Linked DNA regions of Homo sapiens: all the other regions are linked to region 1. The links are contacts of gene promoters, found by promoter capture Hi-C in blood cells and fetal thymus (Javierre and others, 2016). All regions are on one chromosome and are shown on one strand. Each heading gives the region's core, a stretch centred on a gene start or on the middle of the fragment in contact. The rest is flanking DNA. Distances are from core to core; before and after follow the strand shown.

Region 1 (4,838 bases), core at 1,486-3,985:
GCCAGGTGAAGGCTGAGTGACGGGTTCTGGCAAGTGGACTCCCCCCATGATGCAGGACTCCCCAAAAAATCAGACATTGCATAAGCAAAGGGAGAAGCCACCAAGATATTCCAAGTCTATACGTCACCACAGCAGGGCCTTACTCTCTCCTGACTAATCCACACATCCTTGCTTCTGCCTAGAGAGATTTTCCTCTCTTGCTGGCCAGTTGATTTCAAGTTTCAGTTGCAACATAACCTTGCTGGGGAGGCCTACCCTGACCAGGAGTCAGTCACTCCCACCTCTCTCAACTCTCAGGGCTCTGTTATCACCTCCATTTACACCCGGAATGCAGGCCACCTGGTAGGTTGCACAAGGGTTTGTCTGCCACACTACACTGTGAGGTCCCAGAGGGCAGGGACTGTGTCTGTTTAAAATTTTGTTTCTCCCACCAGACTGAGCCTTGTCCTTTGTACTCAGAAATATTCAGGGTGTTACCAAAATGCATTAGGTCAGAGAGAAAACTGTTTACCCCCAGCCTCAGTAGAGAAAAAAGCATGGCCCATCTCAACCTTGAGGCCACAGTGGTTGGTGGGGGATTAGCAGGGGTTTCAGGTGAGCAGGACGCTGTGGGAATGAGGGAGGAAGGGGAGGGCGGGACGGAGAAGGGTTCTGGAACCTGGTCACTGCCGTCCCCGCCCCACTCCCTAGGGAAACTAGCGGCCAGAGCTGGAAAGAGCCTGAGTAGCTTCCAACTGTTTACCTTCTGGGTACCATGGCGACTGGAGACTGGTCGCCATGGCAACCTCAATATTAATCAGAGGCAGCCACCACTAGCAGATGGTGAATGAGGACAGAAAAGACATAGAAACAGGAGCATCAAAGGCAAGTGCACACGTAGTCACGGCCAAAGTCCCAGCTAAAGTGATTAAGATCCTGCCTCCACCAGCCAGTCACCCCAAGAACCACCGCTCCTCCCCTCCGGGCATCTACACAGGAGGAGGCCCCTCTCTGTGGCTGAACCGAGGCTGAAGAGGAAGTGCGGTGTTTGGGCATTGGTGCGAAGCAGGGGGAGTTCCTGTCCTTCCCCCTACCCCAAAGAACGCAAAGAAGCTCCCACCAGCTTAGTGAAATCCCATCTGGGTCCTCTGACCTGGCCGACTTTTCTACAACTGGGACTCTGGCGTAGAAGACCCAGTTGGTGGATACCACACACAAGTGACCATCTCTCCTCTCCCGGCCCAACCACCCGCGTCCCCCATGAATTCTCAGCGTGAACGCACGCTGTACATTGGACTCCGTGCCCAGACAGCACTATTCTTGCTGGTTTTCATGAATGAAAGTGTGTATGTGTTGGGGGGAGGGGGTGGCGGACAGTGCATAATGTTAGGGGCACCGAGCTGTCCACTCCGGGATGGAGTCTGAACCCGGGTGGGTGCCATTCCTGCTGATCCCAGCCTCGCCCCTTTGGAAGATGTGATGGGGAGCGTCTGCCGTCGGGGTGCCGGGCTTCGCTGCAAGGGACTGCTCCCGCCAGCTTCCGGCGAGGCCTGAGCCGGCGGACTGCGTGTCAGAGGCACCTGGTTCAGGCCAAAGAGGCCGGGGCGCCGGCTCCAGGTCCTCTAGGTTCCAGCGCCATTCATCCTCCCTCACGCGCCGCGCCAACCGGAGACCCCCGCTGCAGAGGGCCGAAGTTAAAGTCCCAGCTGCGCCGCTCAGTAGGGAGATTACACAGGGAGAAAAATGAATCACCCGGCCCGGGGTTGCGGGACTGCGAGGGCCTGCGCGCCAAGGCCCCCAGGGGCGTCGGGAGGGGCCGCGGGCTGAGCTAAAGAGAAAAGCCTGACGGCTGGGAGCCCGGCGCCTTTATCCGGTTAGGGGATTGCAGAGGATCAGAGAGCCCGCCGCCCCTTCTCCTCCATCACCGAGCACTAAGCCCCGGGCGTCCGAGATCCCGGGTGTGATTTTATCATTAAAAAAAGTAACCGCGCACTCCTAAAAGAATTTTAATTCTCGCCTCCTCCTCAGCCTACCTTTCTCTTTGAATCCCCAAGGGAAAATAGTCCCCTGGGTTGGGGGGCAGTCCTTCGCCGCTGCCTTCCCCCGGCCCTGCTCCCTCCAGGCCACTGACTCAACCTCCCCCGGCGCGGCGCGGACTCGAGAAGACGCGGCGCCCGCTCCCGACTTGGAGCCGGGGAAGTGGGTCCTTCCCGGACTGGCGGTCCGGGGACAGCGTGACAGGAGGAAATGTATGGGGTGGGGTCGCGGCTGCAAGCCCTACCCGTCCCCAGCGGGAGCCAGCCCTGCTCCTTCTGCCTCCCGCCCCGACGGCTCAGCGGGCTCGGCCCAGCGCGGCTGTGGGACGTGAGTAAAAGGGGGTGCGATCGGCTTGGGGAGCACGGGGAGGGCTTCCTGTCCTTTGAACTGGACTGGAGGGGTATGGGAGCCGGGGAGTGGGAGCCGAGGCCGTAGCCGATCCTTTTTCACTTTCTCTCCAGCCCGCGGCCCGTTTCAGCACCGGGGGCTGCGGACAGCGCCGCGCCCGCCCCTGGAAGCAGCAGCATCCCTCCCCTGCGTGTGGTTCTCTAACTTACCTCCTGTATGGGGTCTGCGGCCCCAGCACACCTCCCGGCGCCCCCCAAAAAATTCCAGCTCAAGAGCCCCTAAAAATCCTTACCCTGCCAAAGTTTGAGCTTCTCCGCGGCGCGCCAGGGTCTGCGGAGCGCCTCCTCCCTCGGCCTCCTAGGCGCAGTTCCGCTCGCTCCCTCCCCCGCGCTCCCGGCCCAGGACTCTGCTCGGCGACTGCTGAAGGAGCCTGTGGCCTCCCTCTCCGTGGGAAAGTAAGGTGAGGCTCTGGAGCCTCAAAGGCGGTCCGAAAGAGGCAGAAGTCATTAGTTCACATCCCCAACCCTCCCAGGGAGGACGGGGAGAGTCAGGGGCAAGAAAGCAAACAAGTCCGTCGTTCCGTTCTGGGTTCTCTCCTAACTGTGGGCGGCCACCCTGGACTCCTTCCTGGGATGTTTTGCTGGTAGTGTAATCCACACTGGATGAGTAAGCAACAGAGATCTGGGGTTTGAAGTTTAAAGGTGGGGACACACACACACACACACGCACAAAGTCTTGGACCCGTTTGCCATCTTAGGGAAGATGTTAGAAACAAGTTTCTCTTTGGGACAATGTGTATTCTCCTTGCAGAGTTTTTGTTTCCTTCCATCACATCAGATAACATCGGATTTCCTGAACTAAAAATTAAAACCACCAATCCAGCTAGTAATTATTTAACCCCTATTGAAGCCCAAGGAACTTAAACTCTTTTTGGAGAAAATAACTTTATTTACTAAAACTCATTTTCCTCCCAGAAGGTGTACTTCCAAGAACACACCTCTCCATGAAGGATGAAGACCGAATCCTGCCTTTCCCTCACCAGCAATTGCATGCTCTGGTTCTGGATCGCAGGAGCAGGTCCCGGGAGGAATCCAAGCCTCCTTGCCTGGGACAAGCCTCTTGGGTTCCAGGTTCTCTTGACTGATACCCTCATGGGAAGAAACTCCACAAAAGCAGATCCCACCGCAGCCAGCTAACCAGAGCTTCTCTGAGGACTTGGAGTACATGGCATTTCCTAGCATACTTATCAAATCGCCTGTTAATTGAACACATTATCTTTAGAAGGCTTAAGTTCATCGAGTTCATGCAATACTTGAAGGGAGAGATGAAGTGTATGTTTTTCACTGAAGAAATAAAGAATTAGAATGGCTCACACACACATGTGCATGTGTGCACACATGTCATGTCTTAAAGGGGGGAAGTAAAACCTAGACAAATTTTCCCCCAAAGAAAATCAGGCTTAGTCGTTCAGATTCAAGGGACTCTGGTAGTGGAAGAGCAAATAAATGGAAGTGGTGAATCAACAAAAGGAAGCCAAAGCCACAGAAGTTGGAAGAGAGGAGAATTCTTATTTTATTACTTGGGCTTCTGAAAGGAACCTGAAATTATAATAATTTCAAGAGAAAATATAATAGATGAGACTTTGCCTCATTGAGGACTTCAGTATTCTTATTCCAGGGAATCTCCACGTGCCTCAATTATGAATCTCCACGTGCCTCAGTTGTTATGTGCATTTTTTTTATAGTTCTCATTGTCAGGAAATGCTTTATTTCTTCTAATCTCATTAATTTATGCAACAAGTTAAAGCTGTTTCCTGCTGGCTTGTCCTCAGGGAAGACTGGAAGCAGATGATTATTTTCTGTTGTCCAGAAACATTTCAGAGTTTCAAAAGAATCTTAAATCCTGATTTTGGAGTAAATAGTAGTGATCATGAGATCATTTTAAGGCATCATCCTGAAAAATCCCCTTGGACTTTGTTTCTGAAATGCACATCATTCCTAAGATTTGAAGGGGAAAACAAGACCTCACAGAATTAATCAAGAAATGGAGAAGTGTCCTGAGTCTGATGAAATGAGATAGAGTGTTTAGCACAGAAATGGGCACATAGTTGGCCCCTAGGGAATGATGTATGTGGCAATAGTTATCATTGAAGAACTTTGGGTGTCTGAAAAGTGGAAACAGATGAAGAGACTGGAAATGAATGGAAAGAGACTGAAGGGGATGTATCTGTGAATTTGCCTGCAAAAGTCATCGAGCTGCAAGATCCTAGGCTGCCATGATGGAGGGTCCAGATTTGGCCCAATGCTCACTCAATGGAGTGGCCTCTGGGGACCTTTCCAATTATTGCTCAAGCTTCAACTGAGGCATGGTCGAGTGTGGAAGGGACAGCAAGATTTTGTGAAGATGCAGGATACAGCAACCTCTGAATAAATTAGTGGGATGCTCTAACAGGCCCATGGCACTAAGAGACCAAG
Region 2 (4,838 bases), core at 608-3,107, 490 kb after region 1:
GGGATTGCACAAATTCATTCACATCTGCAGATGCCACTTCTAATTCTTTTCTCTTGCTGTTTCTACCACATCTACAGTGACTTCTCCACTGAAGTCTTGAACCCTTCCTTCAAAGTCATCCATAAGGGTTGGGATTAACTTCTTCCAGCCTCCTATTGTTGACATTTTAACCTTCTCCCATGAATCACAAATGTTCTTTTTTTTTTTTTTTTTTCCAAGACGGGGTCTCACTCTGTCGCCCAGGCTGGAGTGCACTGGCACAATCTTGGCTCACTGCAACCTCCGCCTCCCAGGTTCAAGCAATTCTCCTGCCTCAGCCTTCTGAATAGCTGGGATTATAGGCCCGTCCCACCACTGCCAGCTACATTTTTTTTTTTTTTTTTTTTTTTAGTAGAGATGGGATTTCACCATGTTGGCGAGGCTGGTCTCGAACTCCTGACTTCAGGTGATCCACCCGCCTCAGCCTCCCAAAGTGCTGGGATTACAGACTTGAGCCACTGTGCCCAGCTGCAAATGTTCTTAATGGCATTTAGAATGGTGACTCATTTCCAGGAGGTTTTCAATGGACTTTGCCCAGATCCATCAGAGGAATCACCCTTTGTGGCAGCTATAGCCTTAAGCAGTGTATTTCTTCAATAAGAAGACTTGCAACTTGAAATTACTCCTTGATCCTTGGCTGAAGAATGGATGTTGTGTTAGCAGTCATGAAAACAACGTGCATCTTCTTGTACATTTTCATCAGAGCTCCTGGGTGACCAGTTGCCTTGTCACTGAGCAGTAATATTTGGAAAGAAATCTTTTTTCTGAGCATTAGGTCTCAACAGTGGATTTTAAATATTCAGTAAACCATGTTATAAATAGATGTGCTGTTATCTAGGCCTTGTCCATTTATAGAGCACAGGTAGAATAGATTTAGCACAGTTCTTAAGGTCTCTAGAATTTTCAGAATGGCAGATGAGCACTGGCTTCAACTTAAAGCCACCAGCTGTGTTAGTCCCTAATAAGAGAGAGTCAGCCTGTCCTTTGAAGCTTTGAAGCCAGGCACTGACTTCTCTTTAGATGGTATCTTCCAACAGAAGGCTGCTTGATCTACATGGAAAATTTGTTGTTTAGTGTGGCCACGTTCATCAATGATCTTAGCTAGATCTTCTGGATAACTTGCTGCAACTTGTACATCAGCATTTAATGCTTCACCTTGCACTTTTATGTGATGGAGCTGGCTTCTTTTCTTAAACCTCATGAATCGATCCCTTTTAGCTTTCAGCTATTCTGCAGCTTCCTCCCCTCTCTCAGCCTTCACAGAATTAAAGAGAGTCAGGGCCTTGCTCTGGATTAGACTTTGGCTTAAGAGAATGGTATGGCAAGGCCAGGCGTGGTGGCTCACGCCTGTAGTCCCAGCACTTTGGGAGGCTGAGGCAGGTGGATCACCTAAGGTCAGGAGTTCGAAACCAACCTGGCCAACGTGGTGAAACCCCATCTCTACTAAAAATACAAAAATTGGGTGTGGTGGTGTGCACCTATAATCTCAGTTACTCAGGAGGCTGAGGCACAAGAATCGCTTGAACCTGGAAGGCAGAGATTGCAGTGAGCCAAGACCACGCCATTGCACTCCAGCCTGGGCATCAAGCGAAACTCCATCTCAAAAAAAAAAAAAAAAAAAGAGAATGCCGTGGCTGCTTAGCTCTTCCATCCAGACCACTAAAGCTTTATCCCTATCAGCAATAAGGCTGTTTTCCTTCTTTACCACATGTGTGTTCACTGGAATAGCATTTTTAACTTCCTTCAACAACTTTTCCTTTGCATTCACAGCTTGGCTGTTTGGCACTAAAGGCCTAGCTTTGAGCCTCTCTTGGCTTTGAGCATGTCTTCCTCACTAACCTTATTTCCAGATTTTGGGTTAAAGTGAGAGATGTGCAACCCTTCCTTTTACTCCAACACTTACAGGCCATTGTAGGGCTACTAATTGGCCTAATTGTAATATTATTGTATCTTAGGAATAGGGAAGCTTGAGGAGAGGAAGGGAGTTGGGAGAACAGCAGTTGGTGGAGCAATGAGAACACACATAACATTTTTCGATTTAAGCTTGCCATCTTATGTGGGCATAATTTGTGGTGCCCTAAAACAATTTCAGTAGCAACATCAAAGATCACAGATCACCATGCAGATATAATAATAATGAAAAATTTGGAAATATTGCAAGATTGCCAAAATGTGACACAGAGATAGAAAGTGAGTACATGGTGTTGGAAAAATGACACTGATAGACTTGCTTGATGCGTGGTTGCTACAAACCTTTAATTTGTCAAACAAAAAACTGCAGTACCTGCGAAGTGCAGTAAAGCAAAGCACAATAAAATGAGATATGCTGTATGTTTTGAAGATACACCCAACAGGATTTCCTGATGTGGGATTTGAGAGAAAGAGAAGAGTCAAAATTGACTCTAGAATTTTGTCCTGAGCAACTAGAAGGACAGAGTTGAGTCAGCTGAATTGAAGAAGGCAGAGGGTAGAACGGGTTTCAGAGGTACAATCAGTAGTTCAATTTGGACATGTTAGATTTCAGGTATCTCCTAGATATCCAAGAGGAGGTGGCAAATAGGCAGATAGTATTCGAGTTTGGTATATGAGAACTCGACTAGAAATAGAAATTTAGGAGTCACTAGTGTATATCTGAAGCCATGGATCTGGATGAGATCACCAAGGAAGGAAAAAGCCCAGGGACTGAGCTATGGTACAGTGCTGACTTGGGAAAATTACGGTTTCTTAGTGGTATTACTAGAAACTCAGATCTCCTATCCATCATCTACATACTAGATGTCCAGTTCCGATAGTGGCAGAAAACTGCACTAAAAATTAAACATTCCATGGTGATTTTTCTAACTCTTTGGAGTTTAGATGGGCCTTAAAAGGGTATTGTTTGAATATAGACATTTTTAAATCAAATTAAGTTCTCATAAAAACCTTAAAGGAAACCAGTTTTCCTCTGGATACATTTTCAGTAATAAACATAGGCCTTATGAATCTCTTCATTGACACTAGAACTGTTCTTGGGTAGGAATACCATAATTCTAAAACTTTCACCTTTTTTTAGAGAACATTTTAGATTTTTTTTAGGTGGATACACAGCATTTATTGTACTAATTTTGCTACTGTTTTTTTTCTTTCAACTTTTATTTTAAGTTCAGGGATACATGTGCAGGATGTGCAGGTTCGTTACATAGGTAAATGTTTTTTTCACATCTTTTATATCAGAAATTGAGACCCATGTTACAGTCAAGGGCACCTTACAGTCATGGTCAGCCTGGATTAAGGGTGTGTTTTTCCAGAGAGGATGGCACTGGTGGTCTCAACACTACCAAGGAAACATTAAATTGTCTGCTTGAGGTTTTTTTAGACCACTGGTATGTATTCAGACCACACACCTCTATGAGTACTGATATATAGCGCAAATTCTAAGAATAAGTTAGTTTTTCTCCCTTCCTGCGGTGCCCAGAATGACTCACATAAGTTTTCTTCACTGCCCCTTTCTGTGGGTCAGGTTTGTACTTGTCATCCTCACTCCTTGTTTTATCTGAAGATCTGTTAGGTCTGCATTTTTGAACATTCTCTTTTTTTTCTTTTTCTCATTCTTGGTATGGTATAAAACATCTGTATTACAAGCACTGGCATCTTAGATGGGAAAATGATATTGTCATGTTTTGTTTTGTTTTGTTTTTTTCATACTGCCGGAGAGTCCTCTCTATGTCTCTCAGTGTCAGTTCTGTGAATCCTTATATTGTCAGAGGGAGTTAGGAAGGTGATAAAAGGGTGACCAGTCATATGATTCTGTAGAATTAAATTCACAACAATAAAAAGTGTGGGTGGACTGCCTGAACTCAGTGATATTATCTACTTCATTTCAAGATTTTGTTGTTTTAAAGTTAATTTGGCTTTAATCTTGCCCACCAAGAGTTAAACCTGAACATTCAATTATTTGTTCTTGCCCCAGGGGAACATGAACACTGAGACCCTTATGAAAAAAGGTCCAGGCTAAAATATGCTTGAGTGAATCCGCAACCCTCGTGGATTCACCCAAAACAGTAAAAAAAAAAAAAAAAAAAAAAAGAGAGAGAGAGATATACACACACAGACACACACATATATATACATAGACACACTGATGTATTTAATATATATTTTATATGTATTTGTTTTTAAATTATAGTATACTTGCAGTGAAATTCACCCTTTTAGTGTATAGTTCTGAGTTTTGACAAACCCATAAGGTCATATAATCAACAATTTGGTCAACTCAAACCACTGAGTGTAGCCTATTCCAGAAGACTGTATTAATGGAACCATGTAGCATATAGCATTTTTAGTCTGGCTTCTTTCTTTTAGCATAATGCATTTCATATTGGTTGGTGTAGTAGGCTGTATCAGTTCTTTGTACCACTTTATTATTATGGAATAGTATTTCATTGGCTGGCGGTGTCACTGTGTGGTTTATTCATTCACTAGTTGAAGACTTTTGGGGTGTTTCCAGTTTGGAGTTATTATAAATAAACTCACTGTAAATATTTACCTACAGATTTTAACAGTTTTTTATAACAACTGTTCCAGTTTGTATTCCCATGAGAAACATGAGAGTTTTGGTTGCTCCACATCCTTATTAGCACTCTGTATTGTGAGGTTTGGGTTTTTTGTGATGCGAGTCACTCAGCTAGGTGTACAGTGTTAGGCCATTTTTATCTTAATTTGCATTCTCCAGTGAAAATTGATTTTGAGCATCTTTTTATTTGCCATCCATATGTTTTCTTTGGTGAAGTGTCTGTTCAGTTCTTTGCCTGTTTTTTAAG
Region 3 (4,838 bases), core at 1,447-3,946, 450 kb after region 1:
ACCATTATAACCTCATTTAACCTTAATTGCCTGCTTATAGACCCTGTCTCCACATAATAGTCATAGTGGGGATTAGGGCTTCAATATGTGAATTTTGGAGGTAGCGGGTGGGGTGGGGGAGAATTCAATTCATAGAACAACATACCAAGTTTTCTGGAATTTAGCCAAAGCAGTATTTAAATAGACATTTATAGCTTTAAAAGTTTATATCAGATAGAAGAAAAATTTTATAATGAACAATTTACATTTCCAGTTTAAGACATAGAGCATCAGCTTTAAATAGAAGAAAATAAAGGATATACTAGAAATCAATTAAATAGAAAGTGAAAAAAAATCAATGTAAACTAAAACTGATTCTTTGAATGTAGCTAGATTGGTTAAGAAAGGCAGACAAAAAAAATCAGTAATGAAATAGGGGATATCACTACAGATCTTATAAACATTCAAAGAATAAGAGAAATTATGAATCCCTTCATTCTCAAATTCAGCAATTTAGATGAAGTGGTCAAATACTTGAAAGATACAAATTATTAAAACTAACCAAGAGAGAATTAGAAAATTAGTTTTTAAATATCTGTTAAAGACATAGAATTTACAGTTTTAAACCTTTCCACAAAGAAAACTGCAGGCTCATATGACTAAACTGGTAAATTCGATCAGACACCTAGTGAAAAATTACTAGTCTTACATAAACGCTTTTAGAAAAGAGGAATAGAATGTCCTTCCTTACACGTTTTATGAGGTGATTATTGCAGGCATTAAAGAAAGCTAGAAGCGACATCTCTTCAAACATATATTCAGAAATCTCTAACAGAATATTAGCAAATCAAATCCAGAAACGTGATAACAGGGTAATGCATCATGGCCAACAGGGTTTTATCCTAGGAATGCAAGATTATTATTTGAAAACAATATAATTTTTCTTGTTAACAAAATTTTAAACGCCTTTGTAATTATTTGAATAGATGTAGAAAAAGCCTGTGACAACATTCAGCATCTGTTCAGCACATTAAGAATAGAGAAGAATGTCTTTAACCTGATAAAGAGTATCTATGGAAAAGTAACAGTTAACATGGTATTAATGGTAAAAGATTGAATGCTTTCTTTCTAAGATTGGGAAAGTGGCAAGGATGTCCACTTTCATCACTTACATTAAACATTGTACTGGATGTGGTAGTCATTACATTAAGACAAGAAACAGAAATAAGAGCCATCAGATTGGAAAGGAAAAACAAAAAGGATTTTGTCTACAAACCATGTGATTGTGTGCATAGAAAGTCCTAAGGAATATACCAAAAAGTAATACAGTCAGTAATCAGAAGTAACTGATTTCTTCATAACAAATACAAAAATAAAATGTTGTAGAAAAATGTGATTTACAATGGCATAAATCACTGCATACTTTGGGATAAATTTAACAAAAAAAATGTTGAGACCTGTACACTGAAAACTGTAATATAGAGTAATTAAAGAACTCCTAGATATATTGAGAAAGATTCCGCGTTCATGGATTAGAAGACTGTGAAGATGATAATTCTCCCCAGATCAGTTTTAGATTAAGCAATTCCAATAGAAATTTCAACAGACAATTTTTTTTTTTAGAAATTGATAAGCTGCTTTTCAAGATTAGATGGAAAACGTTAAGCATCTAGAATAGACCAAACAAGTTTTAAAAAGAAAAACATCAGAAGATTTAAACTACATGTTTTGAAGATCAAGTTTAAAACTTCTTGTCCAGATGTGTCAAGGTAATTCAATGGCACAAGAATACTCCTTTTCAGCAGGGGTTACAATCCTAGTCTCTGATGAAACAGACTTGAAACCAACAAAGATCAAAAGAGACAAAGAAGGGCATTACATAATGGTAAAGGGATCAATGCAACAAGAAGAGCTAACTATCCTAAATATATATGCACCCAATACAGGAGCACCCAGATTCATAAAGCAAGTTCTTAGAGACCTACAAAGAGACTTAAACTCCCACACAATAATAGTGGGAGACTTTAACATCCACTGCCAATATTCGACAGATCAACGAGACAGAAAATTAACAAGGATATTCAGGACCTGAACTCAGCTCTGGACCAAGCAAACCTAATAGACATCTGCAGAACTCTCCACCCCTAATCAACAGAATATACATTCTTCTCAGCACCAGATCACACTTATTCTAAAATTGACCACATAATTGGAAGGAAAACACTCCTCAACATATGCAAAATAACAGAAATCATAACAGTTTCTCAGATCACAGTGCAATCAAATTCGAACTCAGGATTAAGAAACTCACTTAAAACTGCACAACTACAGGGAAGTTGAACAACCTGCTCCTGAATGACTACTGGGTAAATAATGAAATGAAGGCAGAAAAAAGATGTTCTTTGAAACCAATGAGAACGAAGACACAATGTACCAGAATCTCCGGGACACATTTAAAGCAATGTGCAGAGGGAAATTTATAGCACTAAATGCTCACAAGAGAAAGCAGGAAAGATCTAGAATCGACACCATAACATCAAAATTAAAAGAACTAGAGAAGCAAAAGCAAACAAATTCAAAATCTAGCAGAAGATAAGAAATAACTAAGATCAGAGCAGAACTGAAGGAGATAGAGACACAAAAAACCCTTCAAAAAATCAATGAATCCAGGAGCTGTGTTTTTGAAAAGACCAACAAAATAAATCACTAGCCAGACTAATAAAGAAGAAAAGAGAGAAGAATCAAATCGATGCAATAAAAAATGATAAAGGGGATATCACCATTTATCTGACAGAAATAAAAAACTACCATCAGAGAATACTATAAACACCTCTACGCAAATAAACTAGAAAACCTAGAAGAAATGGATAAATTCTTGGACACATACACCCTCCTAAGTCTAAATCAGGAAGGAGTCGAATCCCTGAATAGACCAATAACAAGTTCTGAAATTGAGGCAGTGATTAATAGCCTACCAACCAAAAAAAGTCCAAGACCAGACAGATTCACAACCAAATTCAACCAGAGGTACAAAGAGGAGCTGGTACCATTCCTTCTGAAACTATTCCAATCAATAGAAAAAGAGAGAATCCTCCTTAACTCATTTTATGAGGCCAACATCGTCTGATCCAAAACCTGGCAGAGACACATCAAAAAAAGAAAATTTCAGGCAAATATCCCTAATGAACATCGATGCGAGAAGCCTCAATAAAATCTGGCAAACCAAATCCAGCACCACACCAAAAGGCTTATCTACCACGATCAAGTTGGCTTCATCCCTAGGATGTAAGGCTGGTTCAACGTATGCAAATCAATAAACGTAATCCATCACATAAACAGAACCAACGACAAAAACCACATGACTATCTCAATAGATGCAGAAAAGGCCTTCGACAAAATTCAACACCCCTTCATGCTAAAAACTGTCAATAAATTAGGTATTGATGGAACATATCTCAAACTAATAAGAGCTATTTATGACAAACCAACAGCGACTATCAAGCTGAATGGGCAAAAACTGGAAGCATTCCCTTTGAAAACTGGCACAAGACAAGGATGCCTTGTCTCACCACCCCTATTCAACACAGTATTGGAAGTTCTGGCCAGGGCAGTCAGGCAAGAGAAAGAAATAAAGAGTATTCAAATAGGAAAGGAGGAAGTCAAGTTGTCTCTGTTCGCAGATGAAATGATGGTATATTTACAAAACCCCATCATCTCAGCTCAAAATATCCTTAAGCTGATAAGCAACTTCAGCAAAGTCTCAGGATACTTCACTGTGCAAAAATCACAAGCGTTCCTATACGCTAATAACAGACAGCCAAATCATGAGTAACTCCCATTCACAATTGCTACAAAGAGAACAAAATACCTAGGAATCCAACTTACAAGGGATATGAAGGACGTCTTCAAGAAGAACTACAAACCACTGCTCAAGGAAATTAAGAGAGGACACAAACAAATGGAAAAACTTTCCATGCTTATGGATAGGAAGAATCAATATCGTGAAAATGGCCATACTGCCCAAAGTAATTTATAGATTCAATGCTGTCCCCATCAAGCTACTATTGACTTTTCTTCACAGAATTGAAAAAAACTACTTTAAACTTCATATGGAACGAAAAAAGAACCCACGTAGCCAAGACAACTCTAAGCAAAAAGAACAAGGCTAGAGGCATCATGCTACCTGACTTCAAATTATTCTGCAAGGCTGCAGTAACCACAACAGCATGGTACTGGTACCAAAACAGATACATAAACCAATAGAACAGAAGTGAGGCCTCAGAAATAACACCACACATCTACAGCCATCTGATCTTTTGACAAACCTGACAAAAACAAGCAATGCAGAAAGGATTCCCTATTTAATAAATGATGTTGGGAAAACTGGCTAGCCATATGCAGAAAACTGAAACTGGACCCTTTCGTTATACCTTATACAAAAATTATCTCAAGATGGATTAAAGACTTAAAACGTAAAACCTAAAACCATAAAAATCCTAGAAGAAAACCTAGGCAATACCATTCAGGACGTAGGCATGGGCAAAGACTTCATATCTAAAACACCAGAAGCAATGGCAGCAAAAGCCAAAATTGACACATGGGATCTAATTAAACTAAAGAGTTTCTGCACAGCAAAAGGCACTATCATCAGAGTGAACAGGCAGCCTACAGAATGGGAGAAAATTCTTGCAATCTATCTGACAAAGAGCTAATATCCAGAATCTACAAAGAACTTAAATTTACAAGAAAAAAAAACCATCAAAAAGTGGGTGAAGGATATGAACAGACACTTCTCAAAAGAAGACATTTATGCGGCCAACAAACATATTTAAAAAAGCTCATCATCACTGGTCATTAGA
Region 4 (4,838 bases), core at 662-3,161, 340 kb after region 1:
TACAAGCACCCGCCACCACGCCAGGCTAATTTTTGTATTTTTAGTAGAGATGAGGTTTCGCCATGTTGGCCAGGCTTGTCTCCAACTCCTGACCTCAGGTGATCCACCTGCCTCGGCTTCCCAAAGTGCTGGGATTACAGGCATGAGCCACCACATCAGGCTGACACAGAGATTTTTTTTAAAACTAAACTTGAAGTAAAAACACACCACTTTAGCCATGTTTAATTCAACAGAAACGTTATTAGCTTTGGCCCACACAAGGGGTGGGGGTGTTTACAGAAGAATGTAGAGATAATCGGCGCTGTCTTAGAGGTTTCCCACCACACCCTTCTAGTCACTTGGCAAAGAAAGCAACCTCAATCTCATATATGAAATATATATATATGAGATATATATATGTATATATGTATATATACGTACACATATACGTATACATACGTACACATATACGTATACTTGTATACGTATATATACATATATATGTATACGTGTACATGTATACGTATATATATACGTGTATATATATGTCATTGGAACTACATATATAGTTTCATACATATGTAACTATATATCTATTTATACATATATGTAACTACGAAACTATATATGTATGTAACTTTGTATACATAAAGTCCAGTTTCAATGGCATCCATGGAAATGCTGAGCAACCAGTTCTTGGCAGGGTGGGGCTAAGGGTACCTCTGTAGCAAAAGTTCATAGACAGTCATGTAAGCTTCACATTTTACATAATTCAGACTCATCTTCAACATCCATATTTCTTGGAGAAAACGTTCAAGAGAATCTGGTTGGGCCAATGTGGGAAAGGAGTCCATGGCCAATTAACTATGGCAGGGAAGGCAAGACCATGAAGAACAAGCCTGTGTGCCAGAGGTCCACCGCTGTGGGCAGGGGAGCTGCGCTCTCAGAGGGAGAACAAACGGGTGATGCACCAGACTTCACCCTGGTGATGCTTACAGCCTGCATCTCTGATGGGAAGGGATTGGCAGCAGCTAGAGCTGAGAGCAGGCTGCTCAAGGGAAAGGAGCTGTGATGAAAGCAGGGGCCTCAGGAGGCAGGGAGGTGCATCTGCAGCAGCTCTCAGGTCATATCCTAGGCCTGTGTTTGGCTCAGGCTAATGCCTCACATGCTTCTGCCTGCCTCAGAGACATCAAAAGTCTGTGCGTATCATGTTAGTGAACAAACGAACTTTAGTGTCCTACCAGGGTCTCAGACTAACCAGAGAAGAGGAAATTAGCTCAGAGCTGGACTCAAGCCTTCTGTGCTAACCTGTGCAAGCAATCATGGCCTCAGGAGGCTCCTGGGTACTGCCTCTTTAGAGGACAAGAGCAGGTGGTCCTGAGGTCCCAGTAGATGCTGCAAAGCATGGGCACCATTGGCTGCCACTGCAGGCTAAGATTGGTTGATTCAGACGTTTGGCAACAGTGAAAATTCTGTGGAGGAAATATTTCCTAGGGCCTGATGCACCCTCAGGCAGGCCCCACCTGCACCAGCAACGGGCTAAGATCCTTGCTAGCCATCTCTAGTGGAGCTTCATCTAGATCTGAAGTAGCTGTAGGCCTATCATTGCTTCTTTTGTCTTTTTGAACTTTTTATTATGGAAAGTTCCAAGCGTACCTAAAGTAGAGGGACTAGACAGACTAACATAATGAACTTCCACGCGTTGATTACCCAGCTTCAATAATCACCAACTCATGGCTGATCCTCTTTCTTCTATAGCCCCGCCCACTGTCCCCACCCACCCTGCAGATTATTTAGAAATAAATATCATTATATCATTTGATTCATACTTCAGTATATATTTCTGAAAGATAAAACGAATTTAAAAAATCTTTAAAAACCTCTACAAAATCCAAAATAGCCATTATTACGTCTAAGATGATTAATAAATTCTCATCAGAAGTATAGTAGAGGCTGTGCTTTGTGGCTCACGCCTGTATTCCCAGCACTTTGGGAGACTGAGACAGGAGAATCACTTGAGGTCAGGAGTTTGAGACCCATCTGGGCAAGAAAGCGAGACGCACCCCTCCCAATACCCCTACGACCCATCCCCCACCCAACACACAAATTTAGCTGGGCTTGGTGGTGCATGTCTGTAGTCCCAGCTACTCAAGATGCGGAAGTGGAAGGATTGCTTGAGTCCAGGAGCTCAAGGCTACAGTGAACCAAGATCATGCCACTGCACTCCAGCCTGAGTGACAGAGCAAGACTCTACGAAAGGAAGGAAGGAAAGGAAGGAAAGGAAGGGAGGGAAGGAAGGGAAGGAAGGAAAGGAAGGGAGGGAAGGAAGGAAGAAAGGAAGGAAGGAAGGGGAGGTAGGAAGGAAAAAAGGAAGGGAGAGGAGGAGGAGGAGGGAGGGAGGGAAAGGAGGGAGGGAGGGAAGATCAGAGGGAGGGAGGAAGGAAGGAAGGAAGGAAAAAAATCAGTATTCAAATATTCCCTGTTACTGCTTTTCTTAATACATAGACTAAAAATTAAAATTTCAATTTCCCCAACTGCTTTTAAAAACATTCATATTTCACTGGTGACTACAACAAAAATGTATAAAGCCAACAAACAAAAATGTATAAATGACAAAAAATTAAATCTGCTCTTTAGAACTTGATAATTCATGAGAAAATGAAAATAGTTTCCATCATCCTTTCTCAGGCTGCTGTTTTTTATTTGTCTAAGAAGAAAAGAAAATATGTCAAAGCCTATGGTAGTCACTAGGGCTGTTCACTGATGGGCCCACTTATTTATCTCCAGCCAATGGGAGGATTGAACTTCCCTGGTACCTTGAAGTTTGTGTGGTCATATGACTTGTTCTGGCCAATGAGTGTGAGTGGAAGTGATGAAACGTCAGTTCTTACCAGAAAATTTAAATCGACATTAGGAGACCCTCCATAACCCTCTTTTCTTTCTGCTACAAGTGACCCAAATTACTCCACTAGCCAGGATCCTGGATCAACATGTTGTGGGAGAGAAAAAAACAAATTGCTGTTTTAAGCTATTGAGATTTGGGGGTTCTTTATCATCACAGCATAACTTGGCCTACCCTGACTTATAGAAAGTGGCTAGGCTTAAGCTTGTGATTTCAGGGAAGTTCAAGCTAAGGCTAATAACCTTTTAATGTCAGTCCTCTTGAGGAATCATTTCATTCACCTCTTATGATATTACTATATTGATCCATGCTATCATTTTACTAGAGGAGTAGAATTTTAATTCTGTAGTCTTCGACATTATTATGAGATTAAAACAATAATTATAAGAGTGGCCTGCCATATAAAACACCAAAGATATATACAACTTTAATTAAATGGACCCGAAGACGAAACAAAAGACGAGACCCTGGCCTGGAAGTCATGTCTCTGCCCTGCCATGGTCTTGGATAGGTTTCTTCATTTCTGGGCCTCAGTTTTCTTTTTTATAATAATGATTATTATTATAACAGTGACATTGTTGAATATCTGCCATTTGCTAGGTAATTCCATGGTACTTTAGTTTATTCAATTCTTACAACTAATCTTCAGTAGTTATTTTTACCCTTTTTTAAAAACGTGAAACTGTGGAAACTGAAGTTTAGACAGGCTGAGTAATTTGTCAAACCATAGCTGGAAGTGGAGGAGATACTTCCAAAGCCAGACTCAAATAAATATTTAAGATCCATTTCTTGTTCTAAAATCCTATGGCTATTTTGGTGTAAGATGATTCACAAGAAGCAAAATTACATTGTCAAAATGAAAATCATATTTACTCCACCAAAAAGAGCAGTTCTCTTACTGGCAATCATATTTTCCAGTGTGATAGAACACATATTTTATGGAGATCAAAGACTCTGCTATTAATATTTCCTTGCCTGCATAAACTATGAAAGGGCTTCGAAGCATCAAACTTTTATGACAGTGCATGGTAACCATTGTTAATGTATTGTATTATTGAAAATTGCAAAGAGAGTAGATTTTCAGTGTTCTCACCACAAATAAGAATGTATTAGAGGTAATGCATATGTTAATTAGCTCAATTTAGCCATTCCACAACATATACATATTTCAAAACATCATGTATACAATAAATATATACAATTATTGTTTGTTAATTTAAAAAATTAGTTTTAAAAACTTTAGGACTGAATACAGATGCTCACCGTAATGTAGACTAAAGGTGAAACAAAATTATTCCCCTTGAGATTTTGCACAGACTATTTCTTTGCTAACATTTTTAAGAATAATTCAAACACTTGTTAATTCATGGTCATAAAGACTTCTGACCAGCCATGGTGTGTGGTTTTAAAATATCAGATTTATTTTATTTATTTGTTTGTTTTATTTTTATTTTTTTGAGATGGAGTTTTGCTCTTGTCACCCAGGCTGGAGTGCAGTGGCACAATCTCAGCTCACTGCAACCTTTGTCTCCTGGGTTCAAGCGATTCTCCTGCCTCAGCCTCTCAAGTAGCTGGGATTACAGGCATGCACCACCACGCCCGGCTAATTTTGTAATTTTTTTTTAGTAGAGACGAGATTTCACTATGTTGGTCAGGCTGGTCTTGAACTCCTGACCTCAGGTGATCCACCCGCCTCGGCCTCCCAAAGTGTTGGGATTATAGGCGTGAGCCACTGCACCCAGCCTATCAGATTTAAAATACTAAATTTAACTTGTTAAAGTACCAGAAATTAAAGTAATAACATTTAAAGGAAGTAGAATTTACCTTCTGGAAAACACTGCACAGGTACGTGTGTGCGCTAGCTGTGATGCCTGCCCTCAGACCACCCTGCAGAGGCCATGCAAAATGGCCAATTCTCGATTCTTCATTTAGGGAACTCACACCAGACTTGGCAGAG
Region 5 (4,838 bases), core at 1,117-3,616, 320 kb after region 1:
CATGAGCAAGTTTTGCTCACAAGATAGCAAGCAGCCACTTTGGAGTTGCAGAGTGAGTTTTTAAAATAAATAAATTGGCCGGGCACAGTGGCTCACGCCTGTAATCCCAGCACTTTGGGAGGCCAAGGCGGGTGGATTACCTGAGGTTAGGAGTTAAAGACCAGCCTGGGCAACATGGTGAAACCCTGTCTCTACTAAAAATACAACAATTAGCTGGGCATGGTGGCTGGTGCCTGTAATCCCAGCTACTCAGGAGGCTGAGGCAGGAGAATCGCTTGAACCCAGGAAGCAGAGGTTGCAGTGAGCCGAGATCATGCCACTGCATGCCAGCCTGGGTGACAGAGAGAGACGCTGTCTGTAAATAAATTAATTAACTAATTAATTTAATTAAATAAATCAACTGAACAAAATGTGGGTGTTGGCTGATAATGGGAGTAGGCTAAGTTGCGAGTGCAGTCTGGGAGCCATTACTGAAGCCAAAAGTGGCCTTTGACTGGTTTAAGCCACTTGGGGAAGGAGGTGAGACAGTGAGTATTAGCTGAAGAGGGCTCCACGCTGGGGCACATAAGCCTTCATCTTTGCCTCCCAGGAGAGAAAAAAATTGTTCCATTGTTACTTTTCAAAGAGGTGAGTGTTTCTCCACACTGTGCCCCGACAGCAGGCACCATCTCCAGAAGTCCCGAGAACATGCCTCTGGAAGTCTATTCTATTCCCACAACTATCTCATACAAAGGTATCTGAAGCTTCTGCCTGGGCCTCCCTCTTCCTACCATCCTAAATAATTGTCATTTTTCAAGTGTTTCAACATTTCAACTTATAAGAGTATCTGGTAATCTAAACATACTCATTTCTTTGTTCCCTTCCTGTCCCAGCTTCCGTTTGGGACAGTCTTCCTTTTCACTGTCTGACTATTGTCTTTGACTCACTTCGGGTCACCCTGATCCCCTAGCCTCCTTGATTATCTTCCCCCTGTAGCTTGGGGCCAACCACCCCCACCCCAGCTCAATCCCTGCTGGCAGCAGGGGCAGAAATACTCCACACCTACCTGAGTTTACACAGTCACTTTCTACACAAGGAGCTGAAACCGAATCCAGGGCCCACCCCATCCCTCTCCAAGTGTATGGGCTGAATTGTGCTCTTCCAAAAAAGATGTGTTGAAGTTCTGGCCCTCAGTACTGCAGAATGTGACTTTATTTGAAGAGTGTCTTTGCAGATATAATTAGTTAAGATGAAGTCATACTGGAGTAGGGTAGGTTCCTAATCCAATATGATAATGTCCTTATTTTTAAAACCATCATGCAAAGATACAGACACACAGGGAGAGCAGCATGGGATGACAAAGGCAGAGATGGGAGTGATGCAGCTGCAAGCCGAGGAACAGCACAGATGCTGGTGACCCCTGGAAGCCAGGAAGAGGCAAGGAAGGACTCCCCTCCAGGCTTCAGAGGCAGCAGGCCTTGCTGACACCTTGATCTCAGACTCCCAGCCTCCAGGACTGCGAGGCAACACAGTTCTATCTTCAGCCACACAGTTGGTGGTACTTTGTTACAGCAGCCTAGGAACTGATACTTTGCATGTGATGGTGAATTTTAGGTGTCAACCTAGATGGATTAAGGAATACCTAGAGAACTAGGAAGGCATTATTTCTGGGTGTGTTTGTGAGGATGTCTCCAGGAGACTGGAGTGTGAGTTGATAGGCTGAATGAGGAAGATCTCCCCTCAAGGTAGGTGGGCACCATCCAATCAGCTGCGGCCCAGAAAGAACAAAAAAGTCAGAGGAAAGGTGATTTCCTCTCTCTCTCCTGGAGCAGGACACCCTTCTTTTCTTGCCCGTGGACACCAGAACTCCAGGATCTCCAGCTCTGGGACTCCAGGACCTGCACCAGAGGCTCCCCAGGTTCTCAGGTCCTTGGTCTTGGACTGAGAGTTCCACCATCTGCTTCCCTTGTTCTGAGGCCTGTGGACTTGGATTAGGCCAGGCTACTGGCATCCCAGGGTCTCCAGTTTGCAGACAGCCTGTTATGGGACTTCTCAGCCTTCACAATCATATAAGCCAGTTTCCCTGATAAAATCCCTCCTCTGTATCTGTCTACCTACTCCATCTATGTATCTATCTATGTATCTATGTATCTATGTATCTATCTATCTATCTATCTATCTATCTATCTATCTATCTATCTATCGTCTATCCAATCATCTATATGTCTAGCCTATTGGTTCTGTCTCTCTGGAGAATCTTGACTAAGACACTGGGTGGCTCTCATTTGCACTTGATAGTAATCTCCTCCAAGAAGCCAGTCAAATTTAGGAGATACTTCTTGTCAGGCCTCTGAGCCCAAGCTAAGCCATCATATCCCCTGTGACCAGCACGTATACATCCAGATGGTCTGAAGTACCTGAAGAATCACAAAAGAAGTGAAAATGGCCTGTTCCTGCATTAACTGATGGCATCATCTTGTGAAATTCCTTCTCCTGGCTCATCCTGGCTCAAAAGCTCCCCTACTGAGCACCCTGTGACCCCCCACCCCTGCCCACCGGAGAACAACCCCCTTTGACTATAATTTTCCTTTACCTACCCAAATCCTATAAAACGGCCCCACCCCTATCTCCCTTCCCTGACTCTCTTTTTGGACTCAGCCCGCTGCACCCAGGTGAAATAAACAGCCTTGTTGCTCACACAAAGGCTGTTTGGTGGTCTCTTCACATGGATGTGAGTGAAACTCCTATGATATCTTATATTTATCCTGTGTTTGGTAAAATAAGATTTCTAAAATAACCAATTTTGGGGTTATTATTATTTAAAAAAACTTTTTTTTTTTCTTTTCTGGCGTTCTTCCCAAGCAAATATTCAGTCCTGATATGGTCAGGGAGATGATAGGATGGTGGGGGACGGTGGAAATTACCAGCAAGATTCTTCCCAAAGTGACTTAAAACAAGATTTTTATTTCACACCTTTCATGAGGCAAGAATCTGGGAGTCCCTCAGCTGGGTGGTTCCAGTCCAGAATTTCTGCTGTAGATACAGTCAAAGTGTCAGCTGGGGCTGCAGTAATCTGAAGGCATGGATTCCAAAGCATGGTCCCTAGGGGAACACGGAGGACCAAAGCATAGACATGTATTTGGGGACATGAGGTTTGAAGAAGGAGGCTCACCCCCACAACAACCCTGTCAGATTAGAAAATTTCCTGACAAGTGAGGAGGGAAAGGATGAATAGGGGAGGAGGTGAGAGCAGAGGATGGAGGGTTTCTAAAAGAGAAGCTGCAATTGGCTTTCCTGGAGGAGTCCTGGGAAATGTGGGAAGACCTTGGGGCAGTTCCAAGCACTTTGTAAGAGGACTTCATAAGTATTTAATCTTCACGAATCTCTGTAAATATTATTATTTACAAATGCACAAACTGAGGCTTAGGGAGGTTAAATAACTTGCACAAAGACACTCCCTGGATAAGCAAGTGTGGTAGCCAGCCTCCAAGATGACCTCCAATGAGTCCTACTTCCAGTATTTATGCCCTTCCACAGTCCCAGCCCCCCACACTGAATCAGGATCAGTCTATGTGACCAAGGGAATGTGGCAGAGGTGATGGTATATTGCTTCTGAGGCTAGGCCATAAATGATATGTGGCTTCTGCCTTCTGTCTCTCGGAGTGCTTGCTTAGGGCGAAGTTAGCCGAAAGTCATGAGGACATTCACACTGTCTATGAAGAGGCCCATATGGCGAGAAACTGAAGCCTCCTGCTAGCAGCCAAGTGGGTGACCCATGTTAGGTGTGAATCTTCCAACCTCAGTCAAGCCTTCAGATAACTCAGCCTCAGCTGACATCTTGACTGCAACCACATGAGAAATTCTCAACTGGAACCTCCCAGCTAAGTCACCCCTAAATTCCTGCCTCACTGAAAATGAAATAAGAAATACTTGTGTTATTATGAATCACGTTGAGGTAATCAGCTGCATAGCATAGAGAACTAGCACAGCAGGGTTCAAACAGAAGCTTGTCTGACCCCTGGGTGATGCCATCAGTTTCCCACAGGCCCTTCTGTCTTCCGCCTTTTCTCTTATCAATAATAAATGGAGAATACATTAATACTTAAAAATCAAAATGCAAATGTTATAAAATGTTCAGGCAGAAATTTAAAGGAGAGAAAAAAGATTCTAGCAACCACCGAAAGCAAACATGGCACGAACAGAGGGCACGGGCTGGGGCCGAAAGTGTTCAAGCCATAAACTGTAATGAGTGCAAACTCTAGGCCCAGCACGGAGCAGGCAGGGGCTTGGCCCTGGGGAGGTACAGACATACAAAAACCCCAGCACCTGGCCTCAGGGACCCTGCAGGCTAGCCAGAGAGAGTCTCTTTTTTCTGGTGTGACTGGTGGTCACGTACAAGTTGAGCAAAAGCAGGAAAGGAGGAGACTGACGGGTCCTGGGAACACAGCAGGGGACATACATTCAAAATGGGGACATTTGGTCCTTTTCATTCTGGAAGTGTCCAGTTATCAACCTTAAGAGACAGCGTAACCTGCGCCTAGCTGTGGGTGAGCAGCACCCTGAGGTGTGGCCATGGCTGGAACCCACTGGGAGCTGCCCGAGTCACCTTAAGGTGCCCGTGTTCAAACAGTGTTGAGTTAATATCTTCTGAGCTCTTGTTTGCAAGGCACTGTGTCAGGCATTGCAGACTCCACCCTTAAGAGGTCAAAAGTGTGAGACAAACACACAAAGAATTCAGATCCAAGAAAAATATTCTGTGTCCGTGAAGTTAATGACATGATCCAATGGCTAAAGCCTGGCCAGCAGTGCTCAGTGGGCAGCTGGGAGATTGTGGCCTGGGGTCTGACAAGGGCAGCAGC

Evidence for each region. Contacts are between HindIII fragments. The CHiCAGO score rates a contact against its expected background, and 5 or more counts as called.
Region 2: a fragment that was not itself captured here is called in contact with the fragment with the promoter of CNGA3 in region 1 in 6 of 17 cell types (total B cells, naive B cells, total CD8 T cells and 3 more); the score reaches 8.9 in total B cells.
Region 3: a contact is called between a fragment that was not itself captured here and the fragment with the promoter of CNGA3 in region 1, in 1 of 17 cell types (naive CD8 T cells). The highest score is 5.8, in naive CD8 T cells.
Region 4: a contact is called between a fragment that was not itself captured here and the fragment with the promoter of CNGA3 in region 1, in 1 of 17 cell types (M2 macrophages). The highest score is 6.0, in M2 macrophages.
Region 5: a fragment that was not itself captured here is called in contact with the fragment with the promoter of CNGA3 in region 1 in 1 of 17 cell types (M2 macrophages); the score reaches 6.3 in M2 macrophages.

What each region holds. Positions count from the first base shown.
Region 1 is chr2:98,344,353-98,349,190 of GRCh38, reverse strand. CNGA3 (cyclic nucleotide gated channel subunit alpha 3) reads right to left here and starts at 2,735. Exons shown (of 8, transcript NM_001298.3): 1 at 2,657-2,735. RefSeq lists an enhancer at 1,724-2,235. The HindIII fragment of the contact is 4,952 bases long and covers 1-4,718 here.
Region 2 is chr2:97,848,984-97,853,821 of GRCh38, reverse strand. All of the region lies in intron 5 of TMEM131 (transmembrane protein 131), which reads left to right. Among named protein-coding and RNA genes, the nearest start is that of ZAP70, 140 kb to the right of the region's middle. The HindIII fragment of the contact is 301 bases long and covers 1,707-2,007 here.
Region 3 is chr2:97,893,631-97,898,468 of GRCh38, reverse strand. The region is part of intron 3 of TMEM131 (transmembrane protein 131); the gene reads left to right. Among named protein-coding and RNA genes, the nearest start is that of TMEM131, 100 kb to the left of the region's middle. The HindIII fragment of the contact is 6,077 bases long and covers 1-4,838 here.
Region 4 is chr2:98,002,223-98,007,060 of GRCh38, reverse strand. No RefSeq gene overlaps it. Among named protein-coding and RNA genes, the nearest start is that of TMEM131, 8.7 kb to the right of the region's middle. The HindIII fragment of the contact is 2,352 bases long and covers 736-3,087 here.
Region 5 is chr2:98,028,934-98,033,771 of GRCh38, reverse strand. No RefSeq gene overlaps it. Among named protein-coding and RNA genes, the nearest start is that of TMEM131, 35 kb to the right of the region's middle. The HindIII fragment of the contact is 3,242 bases long and covers 746-3,987 here.